2 separate regions of the Homo sapiens genome follow, and region 2 is linked to region 1. The links are contacts of gene promoters, found by promoter capture Hi-C in human tissues and cell types (Jung and others, 2019). All regions are on one chromosome and are shown on one strand. The core of a region is centred on a gene start or on the middle of the fragment in contact, and the rest is flanking DNA. Distances in the headings are between cores, read along the strand shown.

The links. Contacts are between HindIII fragments. The study calls those that stand out against the background at their distance.
Region 2: a contact is called between a fragment that was not itself captured here and the fragment with the promoter of SPEM1 in region 1, in 2 of the 25 tissues and cell types used here (IMR-90 fibroblasts and spleen).

Annotation. Positions count from the first base shown.
Region 1 is chr17:7,418,332-7,423,852 of GRCh38, reverse strand. It overlaps SPEM1 (spermatid maturation 1), which reads right to left and starts at 3,529. Exons shown (of 3, transcript NM_199339.3): 1 at 3,325-3,529; 2 at 3,166-3,226; 3 at 2,221-2,972. The coding sequence starts at 3,468. The coding sequence ends at 2,248. It overlaps NLGN2 (neuroligin 2), which reads right to left. Exons shown (of 7, transcript NM_020795.4): 7 at 3,993-5,521. RefSeq lists an enhancer at 3,526-4,045. The HindIII fragment of the contact is 17,952 bases long and covers 1-5,521 here.
Region 2 is chr17:7,525,213-7,530,265 of GRCh38, reverse strand. No RefSeq gene overlaps it. Among named protein-coding and RNA genes, the nearest start is that of TNFSF12, 21 kb to the left of the region's middle. The HindIII fragment of the contact is 5,415 bases long and covers 1-4,807 here.

The sequences.
Region 1 (5,521 bases), core at 2,280-4,779:
TGTGCATGTGCATATGATCCCAATTGTGTAGCAGAAAGGCAGGGCCTGAGTTTCTCTGTTTCTCAGTTTCTGAGTTCACATGGTGAACTGGGGAAGGTGGGAGGTTCTGGTGGGTCAGGCTGGCTCTGCAGCAATGGGATGGAGCATCTGAGGCCATGAGCTTGATCCTCAGTGTCTGTGTAACCATGAGCAAGACCCTTAGCTTCTCTGAACTTAGTCTCCTCACTGGTGACATGGTGAGTTAATCAAAGGAGTGAGGTCACAGAGAGCTGTGATGTTACAGTGAGGTACCTCTTGAGGGGGGCCCCAATATTTCTCTTCTTTTTTTTTTTTTTTGAGATGGAGTCTCGCTCTGTTGCCCAGGCTGGAGTGTAGTGGTGCAATCTCGGCTCACTGCAAGCTCCGCCTCCTGGGTTCACACCATTCTCCTGCCTCAGCCTCCCAAGTAGCTGGGACTATAGGCGCCCACCACCACGCCCGGCTAATTTTTTGTTTTCATATTTTTAGTAGAGATGGGGTTTCACCATGTTAGCCAGGATGGTCTCAATCTCCTGACCTTGTGATCTGCCCGCCTCGGCCTCCCAAAATGCTGGGATTACAGATGTGAGCCACCACGCCCGGCCTTTTTTTTTTTTTTTGATGGAGTCTCGCTCTGTCGCCCAGGCTGGGGTGCAGGGGCGCCATCTTGGCTAACTGCAACCTCTGCCTCCCACGTTCACACCATTCTCCTGCCTCAGCCTCCCAAGTAGCTGGGACTACAGGCGCCCACCATCATGCCCAGCTAATTTTTTTATTTTTTATTTTTCATTTTTTAGTAGAGACGGGGTGTCACTGTGTTAGCCAAGAGGTCTCGACCTCCTGACCTCGTGATCCGCCCGCCTCGGCTTCCCAAAGTGCTGGGATTACAGGCGTTAGCCACTGCGCCCAGCCAAGGGGGCCCCAATATTTCCTCCTCTGCTCCAATCCTGCTTAAGGGTATAGGACCTTCAGGGTGACTGGGGAACTGTGAAGGACTAGACGCCCTCTCAGCCATCCCTCCCCAAATAAATCAGGGCTTACGTGGGAACCAGGCCTCACCGGTGGCTGCAGCCTAACGCTGGGCTCTGGCAGGCACCAGCCTTCTGAGGAGCTAGGGCCATGGAGATGGAGATCTCTCCTCTAGTGCACGACTGCCTGGGGACCTGGGGTAGAATTTAGGGGCTTCTCTGTGCACTAAAGAAAACAAGGAATTAACTGGGCGTGGTGGTGCCTGTTGTCCCAGCTACTCAGGAGGCTGAGGCAGGAAGACTGCTTGAGCTCAGGAGGTTGAGTCTCCAGTGAGCCATGATTGCACCACTGCCCTCCAGCCTGAGTGACAGATCAAGACCCTGCCTCAGGGGAGGGGGAGGAAACAGTCCGGGCACAGTGGCTCACACCTGTAATCCCAGAACTTTCAGAGGTTGAGGCAGGCAGATCGATTGAGCCCAGGAGTTTGAGACCAGCCTAGGCAAAGTAGTGAAACCCAATCTCTACAAAAAATAGTGGTGCGGCTGGGGTGGGGTGGCTCACACCTGTTATCCCAGCACTTTGGGAGGCTGAGGCGGGCGGATCACCTGAGGTCAGGAGTTCAAGACCAGCCTGGCCGACATGGCAAAACCCCATCTGCACTAAAAATACAAAAATTAGCAGGGCATGGTGGCACACGCCTGTAGTCCCAGCTACTCAGGAGGCTGAAGGCAGGAGAATTGGTTGAACCTGGGAGGCAGAGGTTGCAGTGAGCCAAGATTGTGCCATTGCAGTCCAGTGTGGGTGACAAGAATAGGACTCTGTCTTAAAAACAAAAACAACCCCCCCCACACAAAAACCAACCAACCGAACAAACAACAACAACAACAACAAACTAGTGGCCCATGCCTGTAGTCCTAGTGACTCAGGAGGCTGAGGTGGGAGACAGTTGGGACTGCAGTGAACTGTGATTGCACCACTGCACTCCAGCCCGGGCAACAGAGAAGACCCTGTCTCAAAAAAAAAAAAAAATTGAAAACAAGGTAGAGGCAGGTAAGAGCCTTGGAACCCAGAAGGGCCTAGGAAAGGCTGAGGACAGGGACAGGCCTGTGGGGCAAAAGGTTAATGAGGGTCCTCAGGGCTCAGGGCCCTGTGGCTAGGGAGAGCATTCTCTTCACAGCCACAGCTTCTAGGTGCTGTGTGGGCCCTGGCACCCCAGCACCACCACAGATCACCTCCTCTCTCCTTTTTATTTTTTTCCAGTCACCTCCCAGTTAGGGAACGGTACACCCAATTCTTGCTTGTCTCCTCGGCAGTGCTGGATCCAGAGGCTAGGGGGTAGCAGCCGGACAGGGCCTCCACCTCCCGGGTCAGTTCCCGAAGCCGCCGTCTCATGTCCCGGGCATCATACACTATTCGGCCTGAGGAGCGGTGCCGGGAAAATTCAGGGATGACTGCTGGGCCCAGGGTGGGAGCTGGGACAGGCTGGTACTGAGCCGCCTCTGCCTCTGGCACCGCCCCCTCCCCACCGTTCTTGTGGCTAGGAGCCTCAGGGCTGGGAGGTGGGGGGTTCACAGGATACACATAGGCCCTTAGGCCCAGCTCGGACCATATGCCTGTTTTGAGGGGCCTTTCCTCTACGGTAGGCTGGAAGCGGATGGTCTGGGGAGGGGACTCTGGGGCATCCTGAGACCAGGGAACCCAGGTCCCCTGAGTGTGTTGGAAGCCTTCCCAGTCCTCAGGGACATCCCAGTGGTAGGAGCAGATGGCTGGGTACTGATGAGGCTTCTCGTCATCAGTGTCAGGAGCCCAAGCTACTGGGCAGTGAGCACAGCGTGTGGGAGAGCCTCGACGGCGATGGCGGTGAGCTGGGGGCGGGGACACAGTCATCATCACAGGGTCCATGGTGCACCGAAGATGGACTGCAGGAGAACTCTGCTTCTTAGGGGGCTGGGTCTGCTTTCTGAGTAATGATGACTTGGGAGCTTCTGTGGATGGGGGAGAGGTGAGACTAGTGGGGAGGCCAGCTCCTACAGGCATGGAGAGGCAGGGCCCAGGAAGGGCAGCCACACAGCTATGTTGTCTGAGAGGGGCGAGCAAGAAGGGAAGGGGCTAATTTAGGGCTGAGGCTAGAGCACTTGGTTTCTGCCCCTCCTATGTCCCAGCCCCCAGACCTCTTACCTTTCTCACAAATGGTATCATGGAACACTTGGTATAAGACACCACGGAATCGGCTCCAGAGCTAGGTGGGGGAAGACACAGTGATCCCAGGTAGGCCCTGGCCGGCAGGCCTGCCCCCCACTATCCCACCAGCTCCCTCCCATCTGGCCCCACCCTGACCAGGGTCACTATATTGATGCTAATGTTAATGCAGATGATGAGGCCCAGCAGCAACAGGACAGAGTTGCCCAGGTCCTGGCAGCTGTTGCTGTTGCAGTTGTGATACGAGGCCCACTCGGGCCTCGGCCGCTCAACCATGGCCATGGGGTCCCTAGGACCACCGGGGCCCTTACGCCCCCAGCCCACCGTGCCGACAGTGTCCACTGACTGCCTGCCTGTCCCTGAGGGTCTTGGGAGTGAACGGGTCACAATGGTGCCAGGCCACTCCCTTCCAGTGTGCCAAGGGGCTACCCTGAGTCCTGGACCCGTGGCTGACCCTCTCGCCTGAGTCCAGGCCTTGGCAGAGGCCATGCCTCTCACCTCACATACCTCTGCTGAGCTAGCTGCCTACACCAGCCCACTGGGCCTCTGGCCTGTTTGACATCTGCCCCCATCAGCCTTTGTCCTTCCATTATAGAACGACACCAGGCTCCAGTCTCGGCATAGACACGGGTCCTGACATTCATTTGCCAAACAGACCCATTACCATGGCAACCAGACCCCAGCACACACTCCCCCTTCCTCTCAGACCTCAGAGCTGGTCACTGAAAAGACCCCTCCTCCCTCGTCACTTCCCCAGGGCTTGTTTCTTTAGAGACCGCCCTCCCCACAACAGAGCAGGCACAACCAACAGTTAAACTTTTATATTTACAATATTCTCTTCATCTTTTGCCAGGTTTAAAAATGTGTACAGAGCCGCAAAGGGTTGGGGTAGGGATAAGGGATTGTCGGGATTGTTTTGGGGAGAGGAGCTGGGCATTGGAGTCCGTGGCTGAATCATGGGGTCCCCCAGCCCCCCTCCCATGCCCCAATTCTGAGGGCATCTGTCTACAGGGTTCAGGGCCCAGGTCTCTAGCATTTGGAGGGCATGGCTGTTTGGAGAGGAGCTAGACCAGGCAGGGGAAAGGATCAGAAAATAACTAATTTTCCATGGATGGAGGTAGGAAGAGAAGGGACAGTCAAGAGGCAAAGTTCTGGGGACTCAAGACCAGGGATTCTGGATTTGGGTGTCAGTGGAAGACAGCACCCCAGCCCCTATTCAAGTTTGGCACTAACACCCCACAAAATGCCAGCAGATGAGGACTCTCCCCTCGTCCACTGTGTCCCTTAAGCCCTTCCAGACATCATTCTTTTCCCAAATGCCCAAGCCCAAGGCCCTCCGGGGAGTCACCTCACACATTTCAAATTATTCCTGCTGGTGTCTGCCCAAGCCCTGTCCCCACTGCCCCCTCCATCTGTTCCCCAGCACCGCTGACCTCATTCTCCCAACCTGTCCGGTGAGACCTTTCTCCCCACTGCCTCCCTCCACCATTCAAGGCTCCTTTCTTTCAGACAAGGAGGGGGCGTGGGTCAGAGGAGGGTGGTCAGCTGAGGAGAAGGCTGGTCTGACACTGAGATGGGGACAGCTTCAAAGAGGGGGACGGAGATGAAGGGGAACGGAGAACTGAGGCAGGGTGGGGGAGACATGGTGAGGAGAAGGGGCACAGGCGGGAGCCCCCTCACCTGCCACATCCCTCGCCCTGTATCCTGCTTGCCCTTAGTTTCCCCTGCCCTGCCTGGGACTGGGAAATTCTTGGCACATTTTGGGAGTCTTTCCGCTCAAATCCACCTACCCAGTTTGGCACGGATGAGCAATGCTCTGAGGCCTGGGGAAAAGGCTGTCCTCGGACCACAATGAGGGCTTTGGTCAAACATGCGTGGCCTCTGCGGGGGGCACGTTGCCACACCCCCTCCCCCCAACTCGGGAGCAAGGGCCGGGCCTCCCTCGGGGTTTGTTCACCCTCCTCAGCTCCTGCCAACTAGAAGTCTGTGCTCACCTGCCATGTGAGGAGGAACTGGGTGCTGGGCCTGAGGCCTGGGGGAGGCAGGGAAGTGCTGGGAAGAGAGGGGCCGTCTGCCTGGGGAAACACACATCCACATGCAAGAACCTGTTTCCACTCAGAGAAATGCGTCCTGGCCACGGGAAAATAAGCTTCCAGGCAGCATCAGGATGCGTGGACTCCTCCCTCCCCCAGCAGGAAATCTGTGTCTGTCCTCTCTGGAAGGTGAGGGCCTCCCCGGCAGAACGTGCTTCATCTGACTTGTGCCAAGGGGGGCGTCGGGGGGAACATGCTTCGCCGGGGTAGGGGCAAGGGAGGCAGGGGCGAGGGGGCTGTGA
Region 2 (5,053 bases), core at 851-3,350, 110 kb before region 1:
ATTAGAGTTGCTAATATATTATTATCATTATTTTGAGATGAAGTCTCACTCTGTTGCCCAAGTTGGAGTGCAGTGATGCAATCTCAGCTCACTGCAACCTCAGCCTCCTGGATTTCAGTGATTCTCTTGCCTCAGCTTCCCGAGTAGCTGGGATTACAGGTGCGCCACCACGCCTGGATAATTTTTGTATTTTTAGTAGAGATGAGGTTTCCCCTTGTTGGCCAGGCTGGTTTTTAACTCCTGACCTCAGGTGATCTGTCCACCGTGGCCTCCCAAAGTGCTGGGATTACAGGTGTGAGCCACCATGCCCAGCCTAATATATTATTTTACATATCCAGTTTTAGGCCAAAAAAATTATTAAGATTTGCAAAGAAAAAAGAAAGCGTGACATATACACAGGAGCAAAAAAGTAGGCAACAAAAACTGCCCGTGAGAGAGCCCAGACATTTGATTTAATGGAAAAGATTTCAAAGCACTTATTATAAATATGTTCAAATAACTAAGGAAACCATGCTTCAAGAAGTAATGAAGACTAGGCACAGTGGCTCATGCCTACAATCCCAGCACTTTGGGAGGTTGAGGCAGGAGGATCACTTGAGCCCAGGAGTTTGAGAACAGCCTGGTCAACATAATGAGACTCTGTCTCAAAATAATAATAATAATAATAATTAATTAATAAAAATTAAAATTGGCTGGGTGCAGTGGCTCATGCCTGTAATCCCAGCAATTTGGGAGACTGAGGCAGGCAGATCACCTGAGGTCAGGAGTTCGAGACCAGTCTGGCCAACATGGCAAAACCCCATCTCTACTAAAATACAAAAATTATCCGGGTGTGGTGGTGCACGCCTGTAATCCCAGCTACTCGAGAGGCTGAGGTGGGAGGATTGCTTGAACCCAGAAGGTGGAGGTTGCAGTGAGCTGAGATCACACCACCGCACTCCAGCCTGGGCGACAGAGTGAGACTGTCTCCAAACAAAACAAAACAAAACAAAACGAAACAAAAAAACCCAGAAATTCTATGTGTGAAGTATGAACATATTGACTAAATTCAAAAGGGTGTTATATGGTTTTTCTGTAAGTTGAGCATTGAAATAAAAGCACAACAAGACACTCATAAGGCACTAATCTGCTCTTTAACAAAATTTGTAAAGGGTTATAAAAGGTTTTTGCTCTTTTAAATTTCTGAGTCATTTTAGCAAAATAAATAACTTGTGGTAATTTGGAATTCTATTTCATAACATCAAGTGTTTTAAACCTCTAACATATTTAACAGGCTTCCAGAAATTAAACTTCCATTACAAAATTGCCTTTCCTGATGGCTGGCTTTTGGATGCTACAGAGGGCCCCTGCAGTATCCAAAAGAGAGGTAAACAGAATTATTTGACAAGTTTAGTTACATGGGATTGCCAAAATGGTGTCCAATCTTCTTTAGGTTATATTCTGGTGAATAATACTAATGTATGTTCCAAAATTGTGTGGGATTTCTAAAATTCTAATGTCTAAAGTATATGCTATCAGTCATAATTAAGGTTGTTAAGTTATTGTAAACCACAGAGATAACCAAAGTTCTTTGTCAATTGTGTTTCTAACTGTAACTACCCTGGACATTTTGTTATTCACAGACAATTGTTGTCTTGTTTTGATCCTTTTCATAAGCTACAGGACTCTGCAGCCATAAAAAGAATGGGTTCATGTCCTCTCCAGGGACATGGATGAAGCTGGAAACCATCATTGTCAGCAAACTAACACAGGAACAGAAAACCAAACACCACATGTTCTTACTCATAAGTGAGAGTTGAACAATGAGAACACATGGACACAGGGAGGGGAACATCACACACTAAGGCCTGTCAGGGAGTGGGGGACAAGGGGAGGGAGAGCATTAGGACAAATACCTAATGCATGTGGGGCTTAAAACCTAGATGATAGGCTGGGTACGGTGGCTCACGCCTGTAATCCCTGCACTTTGGGGGGCCGAGGCGAGCAGATCACCTGAGGTCAGGAGTTCATGACCAGGCTGACCAACATGGAGAAACCCCGTCTCTACTAAAAGTACAAAATTAGCCGGGTATGGTGGCACATGCCTGGAATCCCAGCTACTTGGGAGGCTGAGGCAGGAGAATCACTTGAACCCGGGAGGTGGAGCTTGTGGTGAGCCAAGATCACATGCCATTGCACTCCAGCATGGGCAACAAGAGCGAAATTCCGTCTCTCTCTCTCTCTCTCTCTCACACACACACACACACACACACACACACAACAAAAAACAAAAAACCTAGATGACAGGTTGATAGGTGTAGCAAACCACCATGGCACATGTATACCTATGTAACAAACCTGCATGTTCTGCACATGTATCCAAGAACTTAAAGCAAAATTAAAAAAAAAAATAAGCTATAGGACTCTGACAAGTATGCTCAAATATCAGTTTCTGATAACTTTGGAGATTGTGACATTGGCACACAGGAAAAATGTACAGGACTCATGAAGAGCTGAAATGTTCATGAATATCAAGCAAAACAAGAGTTAACTGAATGGACTGAACTAATAGAAAACTGAAGTAATCTTCTGGACTTTTGCTTGGAACATTGCTGATCCTTGTTTCATTTTTCAGAGTCGAGGAAAATTATTAGGAATTATTTACAGCCTTTAATAATTGAGTAGGGTGGCCAGGCGCGGTGGCTCACGCCTGTAGTCCCAGCACTTTGGGAGGCCAAGGCGGGTGGATCACGAGGTCAGGAGATCGAGACCATCCTGGCTAACACGGTGAAACCGTGTCTCTACTAAAAATACAAAAAATTATCAGGGTGTGGTGGCAGGCGCCTGTAGTCCCAGCTACTCGGGAGGCTGAGGCAGGAGAATGGCATGAACCCGGGAGGCGGAGCTTGCAGTGAGCTGAGATCACGCCACTGCACTCCCACCTGGGCCACAAAGCGAGACTCCGTCTCAAAAAAAAAAAAAATTGAGTAGGGTATACTCCTGTGAACAAAATTTGGAGCATGTTTGTTTCTCTCTGCCTGGTTCCTCTAGAATTTAGAAACTATCTATGAGTATTCATAACTTATGACAATATAGTTGTTTGTATCAGTGCAGTAAGAATCCATTTTCTTTTGCAACAGGATGCAATTGGAGAAACTGGTTGTTTTACCAAGGCTTTGACTGGAATGGTATGCTTCCCTTTAAGGAGTCAATCTCAACTTGCAGAGCCAATAAAAGTCCTTTGGTAAAACTGGCTTCATGCCCTTGTCTACACAGTCTCCATACAGGGTTCCTAACCTGCAATGAGTAAAGAATGTCACTTTCCAACAGGCCCAGAAAACACATGCTCTTGGGACCTCAAGAAGAGAGGAGTTTACCCAACTCACAGGTATTTGAGGATACAAACTCATGGCTGGCCTGAGCTTTAAAAGGTCTTATCTGAAATTCCTTGTGGAACAGAGTTCCATCAAAGTCAATCTAAAAGGCCTATGTAGAAATAATTATTTTTGCTGCACTTTATGCAAATAATCAGGCCAAGTATAAGATTAAAGTCGATTTTGCAAACAACTGAGTTCTAACTTGATTTGTTTTTAACAGAAATGAGGACTAGAAGGCTGGGCATGGTGGCTCATGCCTGTAAACCCACCACTTTGGGAGGCCAAAGTGGGTGGATCACCTGGTATCAGGAGTTCAAGACCAGCCTGGCCAACATGGTGAAACCCCGTCTCTACTGAAAATATTAAAAATTAGCCAGGTGTGGTGGTGTGCGCCTGTAGTCCCAGCTACTCGGGAGGCTGAGGAACGAGAATCTCTTGAACCGAGGAGGTGGAGGTTGTGGTGAGCCAAAATTGTGCCACTGCACTCCAGCCTGGGTAACAGAGCAATACTCTGTAAGGAAGAAGGAGAGGAGAGGAGAGGGGAGGGGAGGGAAGGGGAGGTGAGGGGAGAAAGAGGGGAGATGGAAAGAGGGGAGGGAGTGAAGCTGAGCGTGGGGGCTCACACCTGTAATCCCAGCACTTTGGGAGGCCGAGGTGGGTGGATTGCCTGAGGTCGGGAGTTCAAGACCAGCCTGACCAACATGGAAAAATGCTGCCTCTACTAAAAATACAAAATTAGCTGGGCATGGTAGCGCATGCCTGTAATCCCAGCTACATGGGAGGCTGAGACAGGAGAATCGCTTGAACCTGGTAGGCAAGATTGTGCCATTGCACTCCAACCTGGGTAACAAGAGTGAAACTCCATCTCAAAAAAAAAAAAAAAAAAAAAAGATTAAAAAAATATATAGAGAGAAATTATATTTCAAAACTTATATATTTGTCATTAAAGTTTAGACTCATTAGTTGTTTCTAAGTTTTGCCTACATTTTAAACTAACCCTGCTTATTCCTGTAAACCAACCAGGGATCTCTGGCTGCAGCTCAGAAACAACAAGAGGGATGGGTAATGTAAAAATCTGGATCAATATTCTAGTTCTGAGCAATTATCCTGCAAATCCTTCCAGGTGATGGGAATAAATACAGTGCCCATAACCCAGAGGTTTCCTCTGTGGGAAAGTAAGACCAAGGGAGCTAACAAAAGCCAAGCCTCATGCACCCAAATCCCAGGAAGCATAACTATAGCCACCAGTTATCTGGCCATGTCACAAGACATCTTTTTCTCTCCTTTGTTGGAGGAAGACTCAATCCCACATCTTCACCCTAGCATTCAGCTTATGATAAGGAGTCCACACAACCCCCCAAAAAACATTTTTGTCCCAAACTCAATTTCAAGCTTCAGGTCAAAGCCCTAGAAAGAAAACTGGATCTGAGGGATCCAGAGGCAGGTGATAATGGAAGTTAAAAGGCACAGTGCAGGTGAGCATAATTAATTCCTGCTGATTAAGCCAAGCTTCCCGTTCCATGGATAAAGATCATGCTAGTATCTGTGGCATAAATGAGGTCTAGGGAATTTAAAAGCTACTGACAGCAGGGGAGATAGGGCATATGTGGGTAAGAGTAAATACTCCCACCCCCTAGAACCCCCTGTTAATATGAGTGAAAACCACTTTGACACCCATGGGTGGGAACCTGTCATGG